Linked DNA regions of Homo sapiens: regions 2, 3, 4, 5 and 6 are each linked to region 1. Evidence: promoter capture Hi-C in 16 types of primary human blood cells and fetal thymus (Javierre and others, 2016). All regions are on one chromosome and are shown on one strand. The core of a region is centred on a gene start or on the middle of the fragment in contact, and the rest is flanking DNA. Distances in the headings are between cores, read along the strand shown.

The links. Contacts are between HindIII fragments. The CHiCAGO score rates a contact against its expected background, and 5 or more counts as called.
Region 2: the fragment with the promoter of ANKRD34B here is called in contact with the fragment with the promoter of SPZ1 in region 1 in 5 of 17 cell types (erythroblasts, monocytes, naive B cells and 2 more); the score reaches 7.4 in erythroblasts.
Region 3: a fragment that was not itself captured here is called in contact with the fragment with the promoter of SPZ1 in region 1 in 11 of 17 cell types (neutrophils, M0 macrophages, M1 macrophages and 8 more); the score reaches 14.3 in neutrophils.
Region 4: a fragment that was not itself captured here is called in contact with the fragment with the promoter of SPZ1 in region 1 in 1 of 17 cell types (neutrophils); the score reaches 6.9 in neutrophils.
Region 5: a fragment that was not itself captured here is called in contact with the fragment with the promoter of SPZ1 in region 1 in 1 of 17 cell types (neutrophils); the score reaches 5.2 in neutrophils.
Region 6: a contact is called between the fragment with the promoter of FAM151B here and the fragment with the promoter of SPZ1 in region 1, in 4 of 17 cell types (neutrophils, monocytes, M2 macrophages and 1 more). The highest score is 8.9, in neutrophils.

What each region holds. Positions count from the first base shown.
Region 1 is chr5:80,317,635-80,321,828 of GRCh38, reverse strand. SPZ1 (spermatogenic leucine zipper 1) reads right to left here and starts at 1,827. Exons shown (of 1, transcript NM_032567.4): 1 at 1-1,827. The coding sequence starts at 1,613. The coding sequence ends at 321. The HindIII fragment of the contact is 2,056 bases long and covers 403-2,458 here.
Region 2 is chr5:80,569,030-80,573,223 of GRCh38, reverse strand. It overlaps ANKRD34B (ankyrin repeat domain 34B), which reads left to right and starts at 2,944. Exons shown (of 5, transcript NM_001004441.3): 1 at 2,944-3,070; 2 at 4,117-4,194. The HindIII fragment of the contact is 11,841 bases long and covers 1-4,194 here.
Region 3 is chr5:80,099,807-80,104,000 of GRCh38, reverse strand. No RefSeq gene overlaps it. Among named protein-coding and RNA genes, the nearest start is that of THBS4-AS1, 18 kb to the right of the region's middle. RefSeq lists silencers at 1,668-1,737, 1,748-1,877. The HindIII fragment of the contact is 2,694 bases long and covers 399-3,092 here.
Region 4 is chr5:80,120,147-80,124,340 of GRCh38, reverse strand. It overlaps a transcript of SERINC5 not described here. Among named protein-coding and RNA genes, the nearest start is that of THBS4-AS1, 39 kb to the right of the region's middle. The HindIII fragment of the contact is 6,557 bases long and covers 1-4,194 here.
Region 5 is chr5:80,140,895-80,145,088 of GRCh38, reverse strand. SERINC5 (serine incorporator 5) reads left to right here. Exons shown (of 12, transcript NM_001174072.3): 12 at 1,279-4,194. The coding sequence ends at 1,426. Among named protein-coding and RNA genes, the nearest start is that of THBS4-AS1, 59 kb to the right of the region's middle. The HindIII fragment of the contact is 1,012 bases long and covers 1,542-2,553 here.
Region 6 is chr5:80,486,279-80,490,472 of GRCh38, reverse strand. FAM151B (family with sequence similarity 151 member B) reads right to left here and starts at 2,373. Exons shown (of 6, transcript NM_205548.3): 1 at 2,325-2,373. The coding sequence starts at 2,349. FAM151B-DT (FAM151B divergent transcript) reads left to right here and starts at 2,527. Exons shown (of 3, transcript NR_172938.1): 1 at 2,527-2,695. RefSeq lists a silencer at 1,809-2,103 and enhancers at 1,768-2,267, 2,268-2,769. The HindIII fragment of the contact is 15,498 bases long and covers 1-4,194 here.

The DNA of each region.
Region 1 (4,194 bases), core at 578-3,077:
TGGTTTTTATTTAGATCTTTACTTAATTGGACCTTTAACTTCTCACTCTAGGCTGTCTATCTAATAATTACAAAAAAAACAAGCAGATTGTAAAGGTGAAAAGTTATGAACTTGATGTAGACACAATGGTCATTAAAGACCAGACTTACATAACTGCTGAAGTAATGAGTAATATAAGTGTCAATCTCCTTATTCTATAGCTCTTTCTTGGTTGAACCAGCAGATCTGCCCAAGGTTTGATGATTGATCATGACTGACAAGTTGGAGGTAACAGATGTAGTTTTTTAAGGATTCACCTTTTCATCTGCTTTTGGTATTTTCTATCTTAGGCTGCTAGCTGACCTCATTTTTCCCCTAAGAGCTTTTCTTGCAACATGAATATTGAACTGGGTATTGCAAGCTTTCTTATTAAGACAAACATCCAGGCTTCTACAGGATCTGTCTTTTTTCCAAAATGTACCCTTCATTGCTTGCTTGTTCTGCTTATACATTTCTACTTTCTTTGCTTCTGATGGCTTCTGATTTTTCTTGTCCTGTTTATAGTTTATCTGAATTGGCTTCTCTTGCAGAGTTCCCTGTTTCTGATGATGGAGTTCCTTGAGAATCTCTACTCTCTGCTGTAAGATTTGGCATTCATTCTCTAGCAAAGCTGCCATCAACTGCAATGAATAGGTGTCATGGCTCAGTTTCTTCACCTGTTCCTCCAGCTCATGCTTAGCCGACACTTCATTATTTGGCTGGGTTTGGAAACCGACTCCATTATTTCCAAGAGTTTCACTTATGTCTTTCTGAGATTTCTGATAGGATTTTATCAGTTTACTGAGCTCAGTATGTTGTTTACTCCAGTGTTCTGCTTCCTGTAGTAACTGCTCCATGTTGTTCCTAATTTTCATAGTTTCTTCTTGAACATTAAGTCTGTTTTTTGCTTTTTCCTGACTTTGTTGAGTTTCGTTAAGGACTTTTTTTTCTTCTAAACGATTTACCAAATCTCTTGCAAAAACTTGTGCGGTGTTCTCAGAGTTCTGGTTTTCCATTATCATCTGCTGTTTCTTTTCATTGTCTTCTTTCTCTGGGGCTAAACTAACAGGCAGGTTTGTTGATAACATTTCATTGATTTTGTCAAGTCCTCTGATATTTTCTTTGTGGGCTGACACATCCTCAGTAATATTGGTTTCCAATATCATCTCCTGTTTCTTTTCATTGTCTTCTTTCTCTGGGGCTAAACTAACAGGCAGGTTTGTTGATAACATTTCATTGATTTTGTCAAGTCCTCTGATATTTTCTTTGTGGGCTGACACATCCTCAGTAATATTGGTTTCCTCAAAAAGTTCTTTTGCTTCTGTGATCTTCTCTTCAAAACCTGCCATATTTTTAAGAATATCTTTAATTTCTTTTAAGAGATTGTTAAACTTCTGTGCAGTCTGTTGTTCTGTAACTTGATGGCTGCTATTCTTTAGGAAAGGGAGAGAGCCCCAGGAGGAAGGGGAATGTGATCCAATTTCGAATAAGGCAATGGTAATCCTAGGGTCCAGATATTCTTGATGAGGATCAGGAGTAGGGTTAACGGTTTTGGAGATGGTGGGCATCTCAGCTGACTTAGCAGAGCTGGCCATCAGGACAGAAGGAAAGCAGAAAACTTTAGAGATTCCAGGAAGGACAGGTGATGGTCCTTTGTGCAAATGTGGGTGGAGACTGTGGAATCAAGCAGAAGTCAGAGACCAAAGTTAAGGATTAAAATTTGGGAGATGATGTTTAGGTGGAAGGTGGCATCTCAGACAGCCTTGTGGGGAGGAAGGGTGGGAAAGGGGACCAAGGCTGGGGCTCCATCTCTTCTCCTCTAGGCACCCGGTGTTTATTCTCTGGCCCTAGCAACCAGGTCTTTATTTTGTCACTGCACCATTGTGGCCTATCCATAGTGTCTGTCTCCTTTGTGTCACAATGGAAGCCTCTTAAATTCCTGCCCAGTGACTCCTGCATCAAAACCAACCTTGAGCTATCCCTACTCCTCATGCCAGAAAGAGCTCTACAATAGCTCTTCCCCTCCTTAATTTCTAGGTTGCTATTCATCTCAGTCTAAATGCACTCAGTTACTTCTCTACGTCACCTCTATCCCCTCACAATCCTGACCTCAACCGCAGCATGTTTTGACCACTTAAGGACATTGCTGAGACCAGTCCTCTCTGGTGAGGTCCCCATCCTTTCATAGCACCTAGAGGCTCTATTGCTCCCATTCTAGGAGAGATGTGACTGTAAGAGAAAGTTATCCACACAAAACAAAACCCTGAGAGTGACAGCCTTTTGTGATTTTAGGAAAGTAATGTCAGGAGTCCCTCCATTCAAAAATATTCTACTGCTCCAAGAAGGGACTATCTGAATGGTTATAATAGCAACACAATTACAAACTGGGACTTTTCTTGGCTTTGAATATAGGCATCCTTTAAGACAGGCTTGGCAAGCTTACTCACAAATCATTTACATCAGGTGATAGAAAACTTTGACTATTACTTTTCACAGTAACTTATTTGGGGATTTTTTTTTTGGCTCTTTTATTGATCCCCTAAGATTTCCACACTCTACACAGTAACTTGTTAAAATGACATAGTTATATTTCTAAAGTGTTTGATTAGAAGGGCATGGTAGTGTGTGCCTGTGGTCCCAGCTACTTGGGAGGCTGAGGCGAGAGGATCACTTGAGCCTGGGAGGTTGAGGCTGCAGTGAGCCATGACTGTGCTACTTAGTGCACTCCAGTTTGGGCAACACAGCAAGATCTATCACAAAAAATTAAAAAATTGGCCAGGTGCAGTGGCTCATGCCTGTAATCCCAGCACTTTGGGAGGCTAAGGCGGGCAGATCACTTGAGGCCAGGAGTTCAGGATCAGCCTGGGCAACATGACAAAACCCCATCTCTACTAAAAATGCAAAAATTAGCTGGGCATGGCAGCACACACCTGTAATCCCAGCTACTCAGAAGGCTGAGGCATGAGACTTGCTTGAACCCAGGAGGAGGAGGTTGCAGTGAGCTGAGATCGTGCCAGTGCACTCCAGCCTGGGTGACAGAACAAGACACTGCCTCAAAAAAAGAAATTAAAAATTAAAAAATAAAAAGCATTTGAAACAGGTAAATTCTCTAGTGGGTTATAGAAAGTAACAAGTTTATTAAACTTCTTGCATTTTAATAAGCTGCTTTCTTGTCTTTTTGTTCTTAGGAGTCAGGTCTTGTGAATATAGAACTCAATCAAAGAAACATTTCTTGTGTATGACTTTTTCCTGGCCTTCAAAATCTTGCTAGCAAGCACTTTAATAGAAATTTGCTTCCAGTCTTAAGGGAAAACTCATACTCAGGTTTTTTTTCCCCTAGAGAAGAGAAATTTATATGTTTTCTTTCTTCTCCAGTTACCAACTCATTTTGGCTCTAATTCCCCAGAGCCTCATGCTCATCTTTCAGCCAGCTGGGCTCCAGGCCATCGTCACTGACTACTCACAGATACAGCAGGGTTGGTCTCTGCTTTTACTTGAAAAAGGAACTCCTTTTCTAATTCACACAATGACAGCATAGATGCTAGCAACTGTCCTTATGCTTTAATTCCATCTTAGAAGTTCAGCATTGGTTCTTATTTCCCCCTTTGACTCAAGCATCATTTAAGACAATTTCTTAATCTCCAGCACAGGGGAATTTTTGATAATTAATTTCTAGCTTTATCATACTATATTCAGAAAATGTCTGTAATGTTTCTACCTTTTGAAATTGATATTTTCTTTCTGGCCTAATAGATTATCAGTGTTCATGTATGTTCCCTAGATATTAAAAAGAAAATGTATTCTCCATCCTCTTGTGCTTGCAGCTTTTTAATGCTGTCAGACATAAATCTAATATTGCTCTTGTCTTGATTTTTTTTTTTATGAAAACTGGTTTGAAGGTAGCATGGTCAAGATACGAAGATAATTTTTTTCTTTAATCTGAAAAGAGCCAGGCATGGTGGCTCACATCTGTAATCCTAACACTTTGGGAGGCTGAGGTGGGCGGATCACCTGAGATCAAGAATTCGAGACCAGCCTGGCCAACAGGGTGAAGCCCCGTCTCTACTTAAAAAAAAAAAAATTAGCCGGGCATGTGGCATGCACCTGTAATCCCAGCTACTCGGGAGGCTGAAGAAGGAGAATCGCTTGAACCCAGGAGGTGGAGGTTGCAGTGAG
Region 2 (4,194 bases), core at 1,695-4,194, 250 kb before region 1:
AAGTGGTGTTCCAGCATCAGCCCTCCTCTCCTGCCCACCAGTCCTGGCACAGCACCCAGGTCAACAGTAAAAATCCTACAGGTAAATTGTATCTGGGATACAATGTAAATTGTAAATTCATTATCCTCTGTTTATTCAGTCCATCCTCCATTCATGCAACATGTTCCAATATCCTGCTGATAGGTGTGGTGGGTTGAGTAATGAACCGCCATAGAGTTTAATGTCCTAATCTCTAGAATCTATGAATATGTTACCCTACAGGCCAAATTAATTTTGCAGCTGTGATTAAATGAAGGATTTTGAAATGGAAGATCATCCAAGTGGGTCCAGTGTCATCACAAAGGTCCTCCAGAGTGAGGCAGGAGAGTCAGAGGGAGAGAAGGAAGCAGAGGGAGAGAGAGACATGTAACAACAGAAGCGTGGCAGTGGGGAGAGGAGGGCAGGGAGGGAGAGAGAGGGAGAGACAGATATTGAAGATGGAGGAAGGGGCCACCAGCCAAAGAATGCAGATGGCCTCTAAAAGCTAGAAAGGGCAAGGAAACAGATTGTCCCCTGGAACCCCCAAAAGTAATGCAATCTTGCTGAGACTCTGGTTTTAACCACATAAAATTCAACTTGGACTTCTGACCTCCCGAACTGTAAGAGGATAAATCTGTGTTCTTTAAGCCACAATAAGTTCGTGGTGATTTTGTTTGTGGTAACAAGCAGCAATAGAAAACTAATAAAGTAGAAGTGAAAATTGGATCATCTGCTTTGAAAAGCTGTTTGGTGGCATCTCCAGAAGCTGAACATATGCCTACATCATGACTCACAATTCCACTCCTAGGTATGTACCCAACAGAAATAAGTATATATGGTCACCAAAAGACATCTATTTTAATGTTCATAGCAGCATTATTTGTAATGTCCCAAACCTGAGAATTACCCAAATGTCTATCAGTAGTAAAATGAATAAGCAATTGAGGCACAATCACAAAACGGAATACTATACAGCAAAAAGAATAAACAGACTACAGCCACACACAGTATGCATCTCTTAATCATACTATTAGTGAAAGAGGCCAGTCAACAGAGTGATTCAATCACTATAAAGTACAAAAAGAAACAAAACTACTCTATGCTGTTTGAAGCCACCACTCCCTCCAATGAGAAATCTGAAGAGGGAGTGTTGTGAGGGTACTGGTAATGTTCTGCTTCTTGATCTGGATGATGCTCATTTTGTGCAAAATCATCGGACTTGTGAAATGTGTGTCTTTTTTTTTGAGATGAAGTCTGGCCCTGTGGCCCAGGCTGGAGTGCAGTGGCACTATCTCGGCTCACTGCAGTTGCTGCCTCCTGGGTTCAAGTGATTCTCCTGCCCAAGCCTCCCCAGTAGCTGGGATTACAGGCATAAACCACAACACCTGGCTAATTTTTGTATTTTTGTAGAGATGGGGTTTCATCACGTTGGCCAGGCTGGTCTTGAACTCCTGACCTGGAAGTGATTCACCCTCCTTGGCCTCCCAAAGTGCTGGGATTACAGGCATGAGCCACAGCACTCAGCCAAAATATTTGCCTTTTAATAGGTACACTGCACATTGATGAAATTTTTTTAAGAGAACAGTCGGAGGTGGTAAGGGGGAGGAGCCCCGTGCCTTCATGCAAATTGGCTCAGTCTTCCTGGTAACCTCCAAACAAACAGCTGTAGGCAAAGGGCAGCCCAGATATAGGATTCAAACTCCCTAGAGCCTAACTTTGGGGTAAAGCACCCTGTGCAATTGCTTTGCATATGTTTACTAAATGAGGACCCTTTAGGTCCTCATTTCGGAGAGATCTTTTCTTTAATAAAGGAAGCCTGACCAGAGATAAATCTACTTTTCCCGAGAACTCAAAACTATAAACAAGTTTTGATTGACATTATCTGAATAACAAAAATAGTGATGGCCTTTCTCCACCAGACCCTCCAAGATAAATGAAGAGTTAAAAACTTTGCTTCTGGCCGGGCGTTGTGGCTCACACCTGTAATCCCGGCACTTTGGGAGGCCGAGGTGGGTGGATCACTTGAGGTCAGGAGTTCGAGACCAGCCTGGGCAACATGGTGAAACCCCATCTCTACTAAAAATACAAAAATTGGCCAGGCGTGATGGTGCACACCTGTCATCCCTGCTACTCCAGAGGCTGGCTCATGAGAATCGGTTGAACCCAGGAGGCAGAGGTTGCAGTGAGCCGAGATCACACCACTGCACTCCAGCCTGGGTGACAGAATGAGACTCCGTCTCAAAAAAACCAAAAACTAAAAACGACAGAAAAAGTTGCTTCTGCTTCATTTCCTTTTCATCTCTCAGTAGAGTTTAACATATGAAATGTATTTTTCGAAATTTTGTTAATATGTTTATTCATGTTTTAATAATAGCATAATAACCTTATAAATTCCTAAAGACGTAAATAAGAACGGTTGTTCCCACTAACACCCCAACCTGAAGTGTGGCTCTGGCTTTACCTGAAGTGGGTACAGGGATGCGGAGGGGTGGAAGGACCGGTGGGGACAGATGGACCCATGAACCAGCGGGTGGATGTGAGCTGAGGGGAGGGATACGGACTGGAGGAGCCAAAGCCCGTGACGTAGGGGTGCGTGCTTCCCTCAATGGGGAGACCCTGCTGCCGCTGTTGTTGGCCAAGTCGCCGTGGCCGAAGCGCGGTGGCCGAAGCGGGGGACGGGGGTGGGACTTACGGGGACAGAAGGCGGAGCTTCCAGCAGCTGCTGGCCCCCCTGGGTCCAGAGGAGCCTTGCCGCCCTCACCTGCGCAGAGCCTGGAGCCGACGCGTCACCCCCAGCGGAAGCGCCTCGCTGCCCGGGCGTCTGGCGAGGTGTGCGCTCCGGGTCCCAGCTCCAGCGCTTCGCGGCAGTCGCCCGCCTCTTTCCGCAAGCAGGGCGGGGACTGGGCGGCATCTACCGAGATCTGCGATTCGAGGCGCCGAGGAGCCGAAGACCACAGCTCAGCTCAGACGGCGCCCTAGGGCCGCACAGAGGGTCGGGCAGTGCCGGAGAGAGGTTTGAAAGCGCCGCCGCCAACTCGACAGCGCGTCCCAGGTCAGTGTGAGGCGCCGTCCCTGCCGGCTGCACTTGGGAAACTTTGGCTTGCAGTGGCGGCTGCCGGGAGGAGGACATCGAGGGCGCAGCGTGGAACCCAGCGGCCCGCACGGCCTCAGTGCTCCCTGCCCGGTGCGCGCAAGCCCCTGAAGCCCGCACCTCCCGCTCACCCTGACATTGCAGTGCCCCGAGCAGGATGAGAGACCCAGGGCCAGCCGAGGGCCGCCGGGCTGCAGGGGCCTCCCGAGAGACTCTGCCCCGCCACCCCGGGGCGCGCTCCACGCGAGCTCACCCTCGCGCCTCCTGCCTTTCCCACTGGTTCTCGGTTCCAGTTTTGCGGCCGCTGGGGCTTGGACTCCGCGGGGATGCGGGTTCCGCCTCCTTCTCAGCCTCGCCGAGCGGCGGGAACCGGCGAGGGCTGCCCGGCCGCGGGGTGTCGAGGAGGATGCGGGGCGGGGGGCCTGATGGGCGAAGGTCGGCGCAGCAGCGGGAGCGGCGCGCGCTGGGCCGCAAGAGCGCGCGGGTCGGAGGGGCTGACTTGGGCGCGTCTCCGGAGGGGCTGACTTGGGCGCGTCTCCGCAGGTGCCTCGGCAGCTGGGCAGCAGGAGGTGCCGGCTGGGCGCTGGGGGCGGGCTGGGGACTGCGGAGCCCTTTGCAGCTTCCAGGAGCTCCTGCTTCCAGGAGCCACACAGGGGCGGGCAGCCGGTTCCCGCCCTTCTCAGGTGCGCACAGCCTTGGCACCAGGATACCGGACCCCCTTAGCAGAGAGCCGGGTGCAGAGGTGCGCCTGCTCCGGGATGGGGGCAGTGGCTGCGCCCCTCAGACGCACCATTTCCCAAGGGAGGGCCGCGTCCGGCCGGCGGGCGAGCGGCGCAGGGACCGCTCCGCAGCGGCTGTGGGCAGAACCCGTTTTCATGGATGGTGATCGCCTTAGCCCGCCAGCTGCCTGCCCTGGCTCAGAGATGAGGCGACGAAACGCGCACCCCGCCCCCATCGGTGCCCTGGAGCTGTCGCCCCAGTCACCTTCCTTTGCCCTTCTCCGACAGCGCCTTGAGCTCGCTTCCTCCTGCTCTCAGGAAAAACTGAGGAAACGCGCCTGGTTCCAGGGGTCGGCGGGGACCGTG
Region 3 (4,194 bases), core at 496-2,995, 220 kb after region 1:
TAAAAATACAAAAATTATCCAGGCGTAGTGGTGCACACCTGTAATCCCAGCTACACGGGAGGCTGAGGCACAAGAATTGCTTGAACCCGGGAGGTGGAGATTGCGCCACTGCACTCCAGCCTGGGTGACAGAGCAAGACTCCATCTCAAAAAAAAAAAAAGACAAAGAGAAATGGTTTGTTTTCTGTACACCTGAACTTGTGGCCTAAGATTGGGACCCACTTCAAGAGATCTTACATTAAATGGAGCTGCAATTAAGGCCTCCTAAATGCTGAGAGCTTCTGTGTCCAGGTTAGCGTTCAAAGGACAGGAGCAAGGGGGAGGAAGGCAGAACAGATAAATAGTTGAAGAGGCTCCCAGACAGGTCTTCCCCCCAATACAGCCAGACCCACGGAAGCTTCCACCAGCCCAGACAGGCTTTGCCCTTGTGCTGTCGTGCAAGAGGAGCTCTGGGGCCTGACTGCTGCTGCGTGGGGGAAGAGCCAGCTGTCTGGGGGCTCTCACAAGTACAGTTCTGCTTCCTCTGGCTTCCCACTGTTGGGACTCAGAAAAGAGTACTCTAAAATGAAAGCCTCAGAAGTTAAAAGTTTTTCTCTGCATACCTGCCCTCCTTTCTCTCAGGCGCGTTCTCCCCTAGTCTAGCCTTAGAAACTAGAATCCCTCTTCCCCATAGAAACCAGAACCTCTTTTCCCCAAAGCCAGCCATAAATCCTAAAAATATTACTCTTATTTTCCCTCTGCCTTTCTGTGTAAAAACTGGCCATAAAGAAATGATCCGACTTACCTTGTTTGACTGTAGGTCATAATTCCCCCATTCCCGAGAGGGTCCTGCCCCACACACAGAAGAAAGGGATGCTGTGCAGAGAGGCCAAGAATCTACACAGGCCTCACTGAATCTCCCAGCTCAGTCTATCAGCATTAGATCATACCCTTTTTTTGTCCAGTCGCATTTGTACATAGCTGTTCATACTTCGTTAATCTTAAGCATCAGTATGGCCAATTTCCGCGTTATCTTTGGGTTTTCATTCTGAAGGATCCTGTGTATAAATGTGAAATAAACGTGTATGACTTTTCTCCAGTCAACCTGCCTTTTGCACAACATGTCTCACCGACAGGGCTGACCTTCCTTAAAGGCATCCCCTGGGCTCCTTGCACCAGATAAGAAGGAGCAGGGGTTCCCATGCTACAGCCAGAGCAAGCCTGTGGACAGCCCCTGAGTGAGGTGTGTGACGTGAAGGAGGGCTGAGATCTAGTGGCGGCTCCCAGCACCCTGGTGACTTGGGAGGGCTAATGGACCTCCTAGGGTGACCAAGCATGCCAGGGACTCTCTGAGCTAGGTGCTGGGCTGCATGCAGAAAACTCGGGGTGTGTGGCTCAATGGAGGCTCTCACGGCTGTTTGACGACCTACTTTAGATCCTCTTTGGGGTCCAGAAGGCAGTGAGGCATCGGGGTCACTGGAGGCACCGAGAAGCCTCCAGGGAGAGGTACATAAAGTCCTGTGGCATAAGAGTGCGAGCTCCATGGTCAGGGTACTAGGTCCAAATCCTGGCTTGAATCTCTTTATTAGCTGGGTGAAGCTGGGCATGCTTCTTAACCGCTCTGGGCAGTAGTGTCCTGATTTATAATTGGGGTTATTAAGATGATTTTCTTGTTTGCTTTGTTGTAAGGCTTTAATGAGATAACTCATGAGAAACAATTGGCATGTAGGATGTACACATCTCAGCTATGATAATGCACAACAGGCCTAGAGAGGGAGGTTTTGCATTTGACAGGATGCAAAAATCCTATTGAAAGTGCTCTATGAGTATTTAGAGAAGAAGGTGTGGTTACTAGGAGTCAACAGAGGTTCCTGTGCAGTGGACAGTGGTAGCTCTTGGCTGTATATCATCTAACCCTCATTTTCTAGTAGCATCTATTACTTTTCCTTTTGGGGGACCATACTCCTGGGTTGTGGGGGGAGACAGTGCCCTTTCCTTCTAGACCCAAATGGGCCAGATCCTCCCTTTCCTACCTAGCCATGGGTTGGGCACATGCCTTTGGCTTGGCCAGTTACACTCTCTGTCCTGGAGATTGTCTCTGTTGTCTCTTAGCGGACTCCTATTAGGTAGATATTGGGTCTTCTGGATTGGTCATCTTTTCTCCCATTTTCTATCTCTCTATTTATTTTTGTTCAATTTTCTGGATAGTTAGCCTACTTTATCTTCCAGAGTTTCTGTTGAATTTACTACTTCAGTTGTTATAACTCCATCTCCAATAACTCTATCTTTTTTTTTTTTTTTTTTTTTTGAGATGGGAGTCTTGCTCTGTTTCCCAGGCTGGAGTTCAGTGGCACGATCTCAGCTCACTGCAACCTCTGCCTCCCGGGTTCAAGGAATTCTCCTGCCTCAGCCTCCCAGTAGCTGGGATTACAGGTGTGCACCACCACACCCAGCTAATTTTTGTATTTTTTGTAGAGATGGGATTTCACCATGTTGGCCAGGCTGATCTCGAACTCCTGACCTCACGGGATCCGCCCCACTCAGCCTCCCAAAGTGCTGAGATTACAAGTGTGAGCCACCATGCCAGGCCTTCTTTCATGTTTTCTGATTACACCCCATCCTCTTCTGTTTCTCTTTCGTGGATGCATATCTTTTCATATTTCATAGAGGATATTATTTATAGTGTTTTGTTTCATTTTGGTTTGAGGGATCCTCTGATCCTTTATAGTTTCTCTCTCTTTCCTCTGAGCTGCTTTTGTTCTGATTATTTGGTCTCTCACTTTTTAAAGTGAGGCAATAAAAAGCGAATTGAAAGTTCCCTGGGCATCCCCACCCTATCACCCCACAATTGACAATCATCATCATGTTGATTTCCACCTTCCACATTTTTTCCTAAATGTTATTTTAATGCTTTTCATTATTTTATATGTTCCATTAAGCTAATGACCATATTTGCTTATAATTTCCCAGTTGTTTTTTTGGACATTGTTTTTTTTTTTTTCTGGCTCTTAGAGAAAAGTTTGCTATAAATATCTTTCTACATGTGACTTTTATTTCCATCTAAATTATTTTTTTGGAATAAATTTGAGGAGTAGAATTACCGGGTCAAAAGCTTATGGGTGTTTTCATCAGTCTTTCCTGTGTGTTGCCAAATTTCTAATGGTAGTGTATACAGGTACCATAGCAGCAGCAACAGGAGTACAACCCTCCCAGCACTCTTTTTTTGGAGACAGGGTCTTGCTCTGTTGCCTGGGCTGGAGTGCAGTGGTGTGATCATAGCTCACTGCAGCTTTGGCCTTCCAGGCTTAAGGCATCCTCCCACCTCAGTCTCCTGAGTAGCTGCGACTACAGGCGCACTACCGTGCCTGGCTAATTTTTTGTAGAAATGGGGTTTCATCTTGTTGCCCAGGCTGGTCCTGAACTCCTGAGCTCAGAGATCCACCTGCCTTGGCCTTGCAAAGTGCTGGGATGATAGGTGTCTGCCACTGCACCTGGCCAGCACTTGATTTTTGAGTATTTTCTTTATAGTTGTTTGTTGTTATAAAGGTACAAAATAACACCTTAACCTTATTATTTGAATTTGTCTATCTTTGAGTATTGGTGTGGTTGAACATTCTTTCATCTAGAACTGGGAAAATTGGCCGGGCGCGACGGTTCATGCCTGTAATCCCAGCACTTTGGAAGGCTGAGATGGGTGGATCTCTTGAGGTCAGGAGTTCGAGACCAGCCTGGACAACACGGTGAAACCCCATCTCTACTAAAAATACAAAAATTAGCTGGACGTGGTGGTGCATATCTGTAATCCCAGCTACTTGGGAGGCTAAGGCAGGAAAATCACTTGAACCCAGAAGGCAGAGGTTGCAGTGAGCCAAGATTGTACCATTGCATGCCAGCCTGGGCAACAGAGGAAGACTCTGTCTGAAAAAAATAAAAAAATAGGGAAAATTAAGCTTGGAGAAAGTCTGTTAGAAATAAAAAAGTTCATAAGAGAATTTCCAAATAGATACAAGAGCAACGTTATTTTGTGTTAGCTGTGGTTCTTAACCTGGGGTCCAAGGACTGGGGTAGATTGACTCCCTGAAATAATATGCAGAGTTTTGTGACCATATGCACAGTAGCATGGAAAGGGTCCTTGGCACTCATCACAATTTCACAAGGATCTGGACCTAAAAAGGCTCACTTATAGGATGGAAGATTTCTGCCCCAAGTAGAAAAA
Region 4 (4,194 bases), core at 1-2,500, 200 kb after region 1:
TGGGCGTGCCCTGAGACTGTTGGCACGGGGAAGCTGCAAGTGGGCCAGCTAGAAGTGCGGCATGCTATGTGATTGGTTGGGGGTGCCCATTTGGCTTTCTCTGGTTAGTCCAAAGTTGGAGGTAGGGGCAAAAATTATGGGAGCTGTCAGTTTATTAATCGAGTCCTGGCCATTTGGGGTCCATTGCTAAGGGGGTTATTGCTTTGCTTCCTGGATTGGTTACTGCAGATAATATGTTGGCTTCCCAGGCTAGTTGCCACAGATTGTGGGTCAGGGTTCTATTTTGATATCTAGTCTGGCCATCCGCATATTCAGTATCTCAGGACAATACCTCTCTCTCCTTCCTTCACTGGGAAACTTTTTAAAATCTTCTGAAATTTACCTGGTTAAGTGCATAATGTGTGCAGGAACAGTTTCAGCTTTCGGAAAGGGAGGATGTTTTAGAACAAGAGGCACAGAAACAAGGATATATGTGCCAGGCCAGGAAGCATTATTACAGGACACGATATCAGAATAAGCTACCTTCCCCTTCCATAACTTCCAGGGCTGGTGGAAAGGGGAGGTCAATACTGATGGACCCTGCACGTTCTCAGGTGCAAGGACCCACTGGGAGAGTGAAGGTGAGCACATTGGGCTTTGAAGTCATTTTGCTTAACTTTGTTTTCCTTGACAGCAGCTCCGCTTTTAAGTTTTGGATTTGGGGGCTGGTGAGATGGGGAGCTGGATCATCTCTGTTCAAAGAGCTGCAGCTGATGCCCAGACTATGTCACATTCTCACTATAAGGGCAGGAAGCTCCCTAACAGACAACTCAGCACAAGGAACTGAGCAAATGTAAAGCTAAGAGCATACTCAGATATCATCACTCTAACTTCCACCATCTCCCCATGTCACTTTTTATTAATAAAAAATAAGTGAGGAAGCTAGGCATGGAGGCTCACGCCTGTAATCCCAGCGCTTTGGGATCCTGGGATCCTCCCAGCTGAGATAGAAGGATCTCTTCAAGCCAGGAGTTTGAGACCAGCCTGGGCAACATAGTGAGACCCCATCTCTACATAAAAAATAATTTTTTTAAAAAAATCAGCCAAGTATGGTGGCATGTGCCTGTAGTCCTAGCTACTCGAGAGATTGAGGTGGGAGAACTGCTTGAGCCCACGATTTTGAGGTTACAATGGGCTATGATCACACCACTGCACTCCAGGCTGGGAAAGAGAGTGAGACTCCGTCTCAAAGAAAAATTGATGACAAAACAGATTAAGAGAATGTATTAGTTTTTTTATTGCTGCTGTGACAAATCACCACAAATTTAACAACATAAATTTATTAGTGGACAGTTCTGTAGTCAGAAGTCCAGGCAGGCTTGCCTGATTTCTATGCTCAGGAATAGCACAGGGCTGGAAATCAAGGTATTGGTTGCAGAGCTTTTACCTGGAGGCACTGAGAAAAATCTGCTTCCAAGTTCATTCCAATTATTGGCTGAATCCAGTTCCTTACAGCTGTAGGTCTGAGGTTCCTCTTTCCTTGCTGACTGTTAGGCAAGGGCCACTTTCAGTTCCTTGAGGTATTCCTTCTCACGTGGTGCTGCCATCTTCAAGCAGCAATGGCACTTGAGTCTTCCTCATACTTCAAATCTCTCCGAATTCCCCTTCTGTTGTGTAAAGGGCTCTTGTGATTAGATCAGGATCACCCAGATCATCTCTGTATTTTAAGGTTGACTGACTTGAAACTTTAATTACATTTGCAGAATCCCTTCACAGGAGTACCTAGATTTGTGTTTCTCAGGGAGGTTATGATGGTTAATACTGAGTGTCAACTTGATTGGATTGAAAGGATTGATCTTGGGTGTGTCTGTGAGGGTATTGCCAAAAGGGATTAACATTTGAGTCAGTGGGCTGGGAAAGGCAGACCCACTCTTAATCTGGGTGGGCACAGTCTAATCAGCTGCCAGCACTGCTAGAATATAAGCAGGCAGAAAAATGTGAAAAGAAAGATGGGTCTAGCCTCCCACTCTACATCTTTCTCCCGTGCTGGATGCTTCCTGCCCTCAAACATTGGACATCAGATCGGCCTGCAGATGGCCTATTGTGGGACGTTGTGATCGTGTGAGCTAATATTTAATAAACTCATATTATATATATATATATACTATTAGTTCTGTCCCTCTAGAGAAGCCTGACTAATACAGAGGTCATCCCTAGAATTTGTCCTACTACAGAGAGATTGCAATTTACACCATATGAGAATTGTGAATAGAATAAAATGTTTGCACAGATGCTGGGTACTGTGTAATTGTTATTTGGAGGTGGAGAAAGGGGGTGAACATTTCCTGACTGATATGGTTTGGATGTGTGTCCCCTCCAAATCTCAGGTTGAAATGTGATTCCCAGGGTTGAAGATGGGACCTGGTGGGAGGTGTCTGGGTCGTGGGGGCAGATCCCTCATGAATGGTTTTGTGCCCTCCCCGAGGTAATGAGTGGGTTCTCACTCTATTAAGTTCACATGAGAGCTAGTTGTTTAAAAGAGCCTGGCATCTCCTCCCCCTCTCTTTCTCTCTCTGTCGCCATGTGACACACCTGCTTCTGCCATGATTGGTAGTTTCTTGAGTCCTCACCAGAAGCAGATGCTGGTGCCATGGTTGTACAGCCTGCAGAACCATAAGGCAAAATAAACCTCTTTTTAAAATAAATTACCCAGTCTCAGGTATTTCTTAATAGCAATGCAAAATGGATTAACACACTGACTATAGGTTAGTTGTAAAATAGATCCCAAAAGTGTATGATATAGTTTAGATGGCCCCTCCAAATCTCATGTCGAGATGTAATCCTCAGTGTTGGAGGTGGGGCCTGGCGTTTGGGTCATGGGGGTGGATGCCTCACGCCTTGATGCTGACCTTGTGATAGTCAGTGAGTTTTTGTGAATAACTAGGGGACAGCAATCTCAGGGAGGTCATCCTGAGATTCCTCACCACCACACCAACTCTCACTCTTGATTCTACTCTGCCATGTGAGATGCTTGCTCTGGCTTTAAGTAAAAGCTCCCTTAGGCCACCCCAGAAACTGAGCAGATGCCAGCACCTTGCTTGTGCAGCCTGTAGAATCATGAGCCAGTTAAAACTCCTTTCTTGGAAAAACAGACAAACAAACAAACTCCTTTCTTGGCTGGGTGCGTTGGCTCATGCCTGTAATCCCAGTACTTTGGGAGGCCAAAGTGGGCGGATCACCTGAGGTTGGGAGTTCGGGACCAGCCTGACCAACATGGAGAAACCCCATCTCTACTAAAAATATAAAATTAGCCAGGTGTGGTGGCACATGCCTATAGTCCCAGCTACTCAGGAGGCTGAGGCAGGAGAATCACTGGAACCTGGGAGGCGGAGGTTGCAGTGAGTCAAGATCGCGCCATTGCACTCCAGCCTGGACAACAAGAGCGAAATTCTGTCTCAAAAAAAAGAAAAAGCCTCCAAAACTCCTTTCTTTATAAATTAAAGTCTCAGGTATTTCTTTATAGCAATGCAGGTATTTCTTTTCTTTTTTTGAGACAGAGTCTCACTCTGTCCCCCAGGCTGGAGTGCAGCCTGAAACTCGGCTCACGCAACCTCTGCCTCCTGGGTTCAAGCGATTCTTGTGCCTCAGCCACCCGAATAGCTGGGATTACAGGCGCCTGCCCCCACACCTGGCTAATTTTTTGTATTTTCAGTAGAGATGGGGTTTCACCATGTTGGCCAGGCTGGTCTCAAACTCCTGGCCTCAAGTGATCCTCCTGCCTCAGCCTCCCAAAGTGCTGGGAGGTGTAAGCCCCCACGCCTGGCCATGGGTATTTCTTTAAAGCAACTATATTATAACCTAATATGGTATATGAGCTTATTTCTCGTTTGCAGAAGAGTCCAAGGCAGGCATTCTAGTTGATGGATAGCTTTCCCCTACCTAGTAACTCAGGCATACAGGCTCCTTCCATGTTGTAGATCCCCAGTTCCCTAGAACCTGTCACCTGCATCCAAGTGATGTAAGACAAAAGAAAACCTGGAGGAGGCATATCTGTTCCTTAAGCCTTTGCCAAGAATAGGTACTATAACTTAGAACCATATCCCCTTGGTGAGAACTAGTGTGGCCGTGCCTGGCTGCAAAGGGTGCTGGGAAATATAGTCTAGTTGTGTATGAACAAGAAGAAGAAATGGATTGGTGAATAGTAGCAGTCTCTGC
Region 5 (4,194 bases), core at 798-3,297, 180 kb after region 1:
GATTATAGGCATGATCCACCATGTCCAGCTAATTTTTTTTTTAACATAAATGTCATTATACATGTTTTCCCCTGGAGGCTTTTTTTTTTTTAACTTGGCAGTACATGATTGACCTGGCCTTCCCTGGCACTACACAGAGGTTCATACTTTTTCTACAGGTCCACAGCTTTGGTTGTATCATAATTTTTTTGACCACTAAGTTAAGCTTAGACATGTAGGCTCATTGTGCTTCCTTTTATCATTCATTCAACAGATGTGCAAGTGGCTCCTATGTGCCACACGGTTCTATGAGGCAGGATTTATAGTCCAGCAGGAGAGACAGACTATGACGCAAGTCAAATATGGTGTGTTAGATGGTGATGAGTATTGGGGAGAAAAATAAAATTAGGAGAGGGAATTGGGGTAGGGGTGGTGGGAGTGGTGGTTTCAAGCACAGTGATTGGAGAGATTCTTCCTGAAGGAGGAGAGGAGAAGGGAGCTTTAATGCTTCCCAGTGATGCTTTGGGAACTCCTGGGAATTTTTGGCTTGGAAAGCTTAAGAAAAGATGGAGAAGGCTATAATTAAAAAGGCAGATAATAACAAATGTCGAGGAAGTGGAGAAATTGGAACCCTCTTACATTGCTGGTTTGAATGTGAAATCTGCTTTGGAAAAGAGTTTGGCATCTCCTTAAACAATTAAACATTGAGTTACAATGTAATCCAGCTCTTCCACTACTCCTGAGCGTATACCTAAGACAAAAAGAAAACTAGGTCCACAAAACTTACACAGCGGTGTTCATACAAGCATCATTGGTGATAATCAAAAAGGGGAAACATCCCAAATGACCATCAGCTGGTGACTGCCTAAACAAAATGTGCTCTATCCATACAATAAGATACTATTTAGCAGTAAAAAGGAATGAAGGACTGACACATGCTGCCGCGTGGCTGAGCCTTGGAAATTGTATGCCAGGCAAAAAAGCCACACACAAGAGACCATGTGATTCCTTTTATATCAACTGTCCAGAATAGGCAAATTCATAGAGGCAGAAAGTAGATTGGTGAATGCGGGGGGTGGGCTGAGGGGGCCATGGGGAAGGGGAGAGCACCTAAGGGGTGCATGATTTCTTTTGGGGGTGATGAGAATGTTTGGAAATGGGTAGTGTTGATGGTAGCACAAGTCTGTGTATGAATACATTGAAAGCCGTTGAATTATACATTATAAATGGATGTGAATTAGTGAATTGTATCTCAATATATTCCTGCTTTGACCGCGGCTAGGTGTCTTGTTTCCACAGCTACGAAAGTGCCAACATCGAGAGCTTCTTCAGCGGGAGCTGGTCCATCTTCTGGGTCAAGATGGCCTCCTGCTGGATATGCGTGCTGTTGTACCTGTGTACGCTGGTCGCTCCCCTCTGCTGCCCCACCCGGGAGTTCTCTGTGTGATGATATCGGCGGTCCCCTGGGCTTTGTGGGCCTACAGCCTGGAAAGTGCCATCTTTTGAACAGTGTCCCCGGGGCAGGGACTGGCGCCCTGTGCCTGAGTGGGTCTGAAAAAGCTTTGAGAGAGAAAAAAAAAAATCTCCTGATTAGCTTTTTACTTTTGAAATTCAAAAAGAAACTACCAGTTTGTCCCAAAGGAATTGAAATTTTCAACCAAACTGATCATGGTTGAAATATCTTACCCCTAGGAACTGGATACCAGTTATGTTGACTTCCTTCTGCATGTTTTTGCCAAAACAGAATTTGGGGCACAGCATCTTTTCACAGGGATAAAAATATCTTGTGGGGCCAGTCATTCTCATCCTCGGAATAGAAAAACATGCCAAAATCTTGAGTCCCCAGCGCCTAACAGAATCCAGACCCCTCTCACTCACTTCCGCCTCTTAGAGCCTTGTCCCCAGGGGGCTTTGAGGACAGGACTCAGCCTGCAGGGCCCCTGGTATTTATAGGGTCCAAGAGGAGGCACCTGCTTTTCAACTGCACCCTCAGTGCTGCCTCTTCACGGCCCCTAAACGTTTCCCTTTGAGGTTGTGATGCTGGGAATCACAGACTTCACTCTCTGCCTGCACCCTTCCCCGAGGTCTCATCTTTTCTGGGTCCCACATCTTTGTAATAATGTGAAAAAGCACAATTTGTCTGATCACCCCCCAGGTGGTTCCCCACCTTATTATCACTACCTGATCCGAGTTACTGCAATAAGTACGGCGCTTATTTATGGTGTTATTCACATGATTATAGAACAAGATTCATGTTTTCTCTGCCTAAGCAATGGAGGGCTATCATTCTTACTTGTTTGTGCTGTTGATAATGATAATACTTTTAGGACCTTAACTGAAAAGCTGCTTCGTGTTGAAGCCTGCTGCATGCACTGCTCTTTCAGTTGTTGAGGTCAGCCCCTCAGTTTTTTCTCCACCTTGAGGCCTTTGAAACTGTAAAAGCGGAAGTCGTTTTGTGTTCTGGATCTGTAACGTGACCATACCGTTCAGGTTCATGCTGGCATCCTTGGAGTAGGTTTGCTAATGTGAGAATTTCTGAGGTGAGGATCTCAGACACACTGACCAGAAGAAGCTTGTTAGGCAATGTGTGGAAGTGGCCGAATATACTTAAAAAGAGGTGCGCAGAGGCAGGCGGATCACTTGAGGTCAGGAGTTGCAAGACCAGCCTGGCTAACATGGTGAAACCCTGTCTCTATTAAAAATAGAAAAATTAGCCGGGCATGGTAGCGTGTGCCTGTAATGCCAGCTACTCGAAGGCTGAGGCATGAGAATCACTTGAACCCGGGAGGCGGAGGTTGCAGTGAGCCGAGATCACGCTGCACAGGAATTTCCAAAATACGTACTTGCAAAGTAATACAGAAACGTGACTTTCGGCAGCTACCCAAGATGATGCCTATTTTCAGTGTTGATGTATTCAGGCAGGGAAAAGGTTTACTTGGTGGAAACTCCTGTTAGAATTTCATTCGGGGTGGAAAGAATCTTCTCGAGCTCTCTGTAAGTGAGGATCTAAGAATAAAAGGCTCAGCCTAGTCATTTTTTTCTGTGCCCTACTGTATGAGTTGGGCAGAATTGAGTGCCACCTAAGCTGGGCTTCTGTGTGCCAAAATGCTGGTGGGTGAAATTAGTGAAATTCTTTCTATTCATTCCTTTGCCCTTCTCCCAAGAAAACCCATGGGGAAACAAATTACAGGGGATGAATTCCTTTAGAACTTTCCCTACTTAGAGTGTTTGAGATTCAGTTTCAAAAGGCACTCCATCTGTGTGTGTGGTTTAGAGAGCCTTGTTTTGTAAATTCCATTAAATTTCCTTTTTTAGGGCAGGAGCTCTGTACTCAGCAGTTAAAAGATTCATCTGGAGTCGCAAAATGAAAAGCCGTGTTCTAACCTGAGGAATCAGTTAGGGGACAGGAGTTCCGTGGGCCAGGAATGGGCTCAGGGAGTGGGGCTGCGTGTCACACACAGTAGCTGTGTTGCAGTGGCCTAGGGCCTTGGGGGTTGTCTTTAGGAAACACCCTGAGGGGAAGCAGGTAAAGAGCCTGGGCAGTATTGTGACTAGTTTCATTGTTTTCCTCCTGCTGAGGTCTAGCAGAGCCCTTGCTTTGTCCTCTCGGCTGGGTCTGGCTGCCAGCTGGTGTGATTTGAGAAACTGACCTTACGCGCAGTCAAGGTCCAGCTGACAAGGCCTTGTATTCCTTGGCTGGCCGTGATTGGCCCTTTCCTCTGCAGAAAGCAGCTTAGGGAAGCCCAAGCAAGGGAGTGTGGCCGGTAGAAGGCCCTCGTCGCTTCCTTCTGGAGCCAGCCCAGCCACACAACGTTTTCCAGATGCGTGAGTCTGGTTTGTGACATCCCGTTCCCTTCTGCCGGTTGGTCTGATGCAAGAGGAAGAGTTACAGTTGCTCTGAATTTTATTCTCAGCTGAAAATGTTAGCACGTGTATCTGGATGAACAAAACAGATGTGGATGTATCTGAGGATTGAGGGACTATCAATGCAGAGTTAATGTTAATGGTTATTAATTGTGATATACAATACTCAGGTGAGGAGTCAACATTCCTGGATTTAAAGAATCTACAGTTTTGTGCAATTGTGATTTGAGAAACTGGAAACATTGTGCCAATGGCTTTGAGTTCCTATAACAACGGTGTTAATTTGATTAACTCACTGATATCTTTTAAAAATAATAGACATTTGCTTCCTACACCTTTTTGTACATGACC
Region 6 (4,194 bases), core at 1,124-3,623, 170 kb before region 1:
GCTAAAACCACTGAATTATACTCTTTAAATAAGTTGTATATTAATAGTATGCAAATTGTACATCAGTAAGGATTTTGAAGAATTTATTAATTTTTTTAAGGCTCTGGCTCTGTTGCCCAGGCTGGCATGTTCTTGGTTCACTGCAGCCTCTCCGGCTTAAGCGATTCTCCCGCCTCAGTCTCCTCCTGAGTGGCTGGGTCCACAGGTATGTGCCACCACCATACCTGGCTAATTTATTTGTTTTCTTTTGGAGAGATAAGGCCTCCCTGTGTTGCCCAGGCTGATCCAAACTCCAGGGCTCAAGCGATCCTCCTGCCTTTCAAAGTGTTCAGATTACAGGCGTAAACCACCACGCCCGGCCAGGACGGAACTTTTCACTATACATCCTATTGTGCCTTTTGAACTTTTTTATGTTGAGAATGTGTGTGTGTGTGTGTGTGTGTGTGTGTGTGTAAGGGGGAAAAATGACATATAACGGAAGAATCTGGTTAAGAATTAGTTTTATCAATAACTCGGTAATGAGAAGAAATTTTTGTTTTTGTTTTTGTTTTGAGACAGTTTCTCTCTGTTGCTCAGGCTGGAGTGCAGTGGCGCAATCTTGGCTCACCGCAAGCTCCGCCTCCCGGGTTCACGCCATTCTGCTGCCTCAGCCTCCTTAGTAGTTGAGACTACAGGCGCCGCCACCACGCCCGGCTAATTATTTTGGATTTTTAGTAGAGACGAGGTTTCACTGTGTTAGCCAGGATGGTCTTGATCTCCTGACCTCGTGATCCGCCCACCTCGGCCTCCCAAAGTGCTGGGATTACGGGCGTGAGTCACCGCGCCCGGCCCAAAAATTTGTTTTTTAAAAAATGGCATTTGTCAGCAATTGGACATTTTTCACTTGTGCACACATTTTATTCCAAGATTTTGTAAACCTTGCATCGATTCAGAAGAGAATCTGGATTTATACAGCCTGTGAGTGAGAATGGTGTAAGTCTTGAGTGTGAGCTTTGTCCCAGATTTGTTTGGATTCTTAGGAAAACTAGGCATTAAAAGGATTTATACTGAGAAGAGCACAAGGGTTAAAAAAGGAAAACTCTGGTCTGAAAAAATGTTCTACGGAGGTTTAGCACAGATCTTAAAAAAGAGAGAGAGAAAAAAGTTCACATCCTTTGATCCAGTAATTTCAGTTACAAGAATCGTGTCCAGGATAAAAACAAACCAAAAACATAACTGAGGAAGAACAATGCAAAAATGTTCATTACAGAATGAATTCTAACAAAACAAAACAAAACAGGAAACGACTGATTAACGTTCAACATTAGGAGACTGGTTAATTACAATATAATTGTATACAATATAATTGTATAAAACACTTCAGTCATTCAAAATTATGTTTATAAAAACCTTGGTGACATGGGATAGTATAAGATGCAGGATTTTAAAAATTATGTTTACCATGACCTTAACTCTATTTTTAAGAGTCAGGGTTGTTAGAAAATACCAAAAAGTTAGTAGTGGTGCCTGTGGGTATCAGCATTTGGGGGATTTTTTTTTCCTATTTCCCTATACTAATATACTTTATAAATGTTCTATAATGGCATTTATCAGGACCTGGACATTTTTCGCTTACACACACATTTTATTCCAAGATTCTGTAAACTGTGCATCGATTCAGAAGAGAACCTGTATTTATACAGCCTGCTAGTCAGAATGGTGAAAGCGTGTATTATTTTTACAATTAGGGAAAAAAATCTAAACTGAAGAAAGAACGCGTCACTGACGTTGTCTCATGCCACTACTTAAGTTTACAGAAAAGATACTGTAACCTTCAAGAGCGGAACTGCTGTCCCGCGAGTTGAAGCACCTGATTCCAAGGGGAATCAAGCGAGCCGCACACTCTGCCAGCTTTCCAGGCAGCGCGCTCAGCAGCGGGACTATGCCGGGCCCGGCCCAGTCCGCATTCCCAAACCTCCCCCAGCTTTCAAAGAGGAACCTACTGACCCAGACCGCCCCCATACGGTCGGCTGAAATTAAGGATTAGGGAAACGTCACATTCCTTTCTTTCCAACCCAGACCTCAAAAGACACTGACCCTGCCATTCTCGACCTCCCCTAACGCCTGTCCCTTAGAGCCCACCCGGCAAACCAAGGTCCTTGCCAGGCGATCGCGGGCGCGCCCCGAGTGCAGAGCGGGCTCCAAGCCCAGCCGCCCGGTTCTGCGCGGCGCGCTCCCAGGTCCCTAGCAAGGAAGACCGCGGGAGCCCGCAAAGGGAGGGTACGGCCGGCGGAGCCTCTCAAAGCGCCCCACCTCCAGGCAGAGGCCGCGCGCTCGGCGCTTACCTGGGCCTCCAGCGGATGCTGCCATGGTGACGACGCCCGCCGTCCGCGCAGGCGCCCAGGCTGGCGCCCCTGCTAACCGGGCACTGGTGGCAGGGAAATTCGACTCCACAAACCACAGGCCTCGGCGGGGGAAGAGCCCGGCGGGCGCCAGCGAAGCGGAACCAAACGGAGCCGCGGCACGCAGGCGCAAAGGCTGGCGTTCGAGGTTCGTTTACGCGCCGCTTCGCCGTGCAGGTGGTGGCGAAGCGCTCCTCCGAAAGGTTTCGGAAGCTGGTGGTAGCTCTGAAGATAACGCTGCGTTAGGGCATACTGCGGCGGAGGATGGAACTCCGATTGAAAGCAGTTGCTGGAGTGGAGCACGAATTTCAACAGTTGGGTATATTTTCTTTTAAATGTTAGTAATATCCTAAAAGGGTGTGGAATCATTACTGATAAAAATCAGTGTTTCTGGCCGGGCACGGTGGCTCAGGCCTGTACTCCCAGCACTTTGGGAGGTCGAGGTGGGCGGATCACTTGAGGTCAGGAATTCGAGACCATCCTGGCCAACATGGTTAAAACCCGTCCTTACTGAAAATTTAAAAAATTATCCTGGCGTGGTGGCGCGCGCCTGTAATCCCAGCTACTCGGGAGGCTGAGGCACAAGAATGGCTTGAACCGGAGAGGTGGAGGTTGCAGAGAGCCGAGATCGCTCCACTGCGCTCCGGTCTGTGCGATAGAGCTAGACTGTCAAATAAATAAATAAATAAATAAATAAGTTTTTGTACAAAGTTACCGAGCTGATAACTTGAAGTTTTCTCTCCCCTTCTGTCTCTCTACCAGTGTTCACTCAGAAAACGCTCTCAGCAACTGGGTCCTCCCATCCACTGTCTTTCTAGCCCTCCTTAACTCATTACTTTTTGAAGCCAAACTAGTGATCAGAATTAACAACAAAGCTCTGCCATTTTCAGCTTCTGTGACCAAAAAACTCAATCTGCCAGTGGTAGAGTTAGGATAACTAACATCACCTGACACGTAATACAAAGGGGAGTTATTCTTGCCCAGCCTTTCAGATAAAATATTTTTCATCACTCCAAAGCAATCACTCTCCATTTACCCCCTTCCTACCCCCAGGCAACAACTCATCTACTTTCTGTCTCATGAATTTGCCTATTCTGGAATTTCATGTAAATAGAATCACAGACTGTATGTATGATCTTTGTAACTGGCTTCTTTCACTTAGCATGTTTTCAAAATTCACCCATGTTTTAGCATGTATCAGTACTTCCTTCCTTCTTATGCTGGAATAAATTCCAGTTTGTAAATACCACATTTTATGTGTGTCCATTCAACAGCTGAAGGACATTCGGGTTGTTTCTACATTTTGTCTTTTATGAATGCTGCTGCTGTGAACATTCATGGACAAGTTTTGTGTGGACGTATATGAATACATTCCTGTGTGCATATCTGTGTACATACCTAGGAGTGGAACTACTTGTTCATATAGTAACTGTTTAACTGTGTGAGGAACTGCCAGTTTTGCAAATCAGCTGTACCATCTTTCATTCCCACCAGCAATGTATGAAGATTCCAATTTCCCCACATCCTTACCAGTCAGTACTTGTTGTTATGTTTTTTAAATTATAGCCATCCTAGTAGATATGAAGTACTACCTCATTATCTTGATTTGTAGTTCCCTACTAATAATATTGAGCATATTTTCAGGTGCTATCGGTCATTTATATATTTCCTTTGGAGAAATGTCTTCTCAAATCCTGTGCTCATTTCAATTGTGAGAATTCTTTATATAGTCTCAATACAAGTCCCTTAACAGGTAATTTGCAAATATTTGCAATATTTTCTCCCGTTGTGCAGATTGTCTTTTCACTTTCTT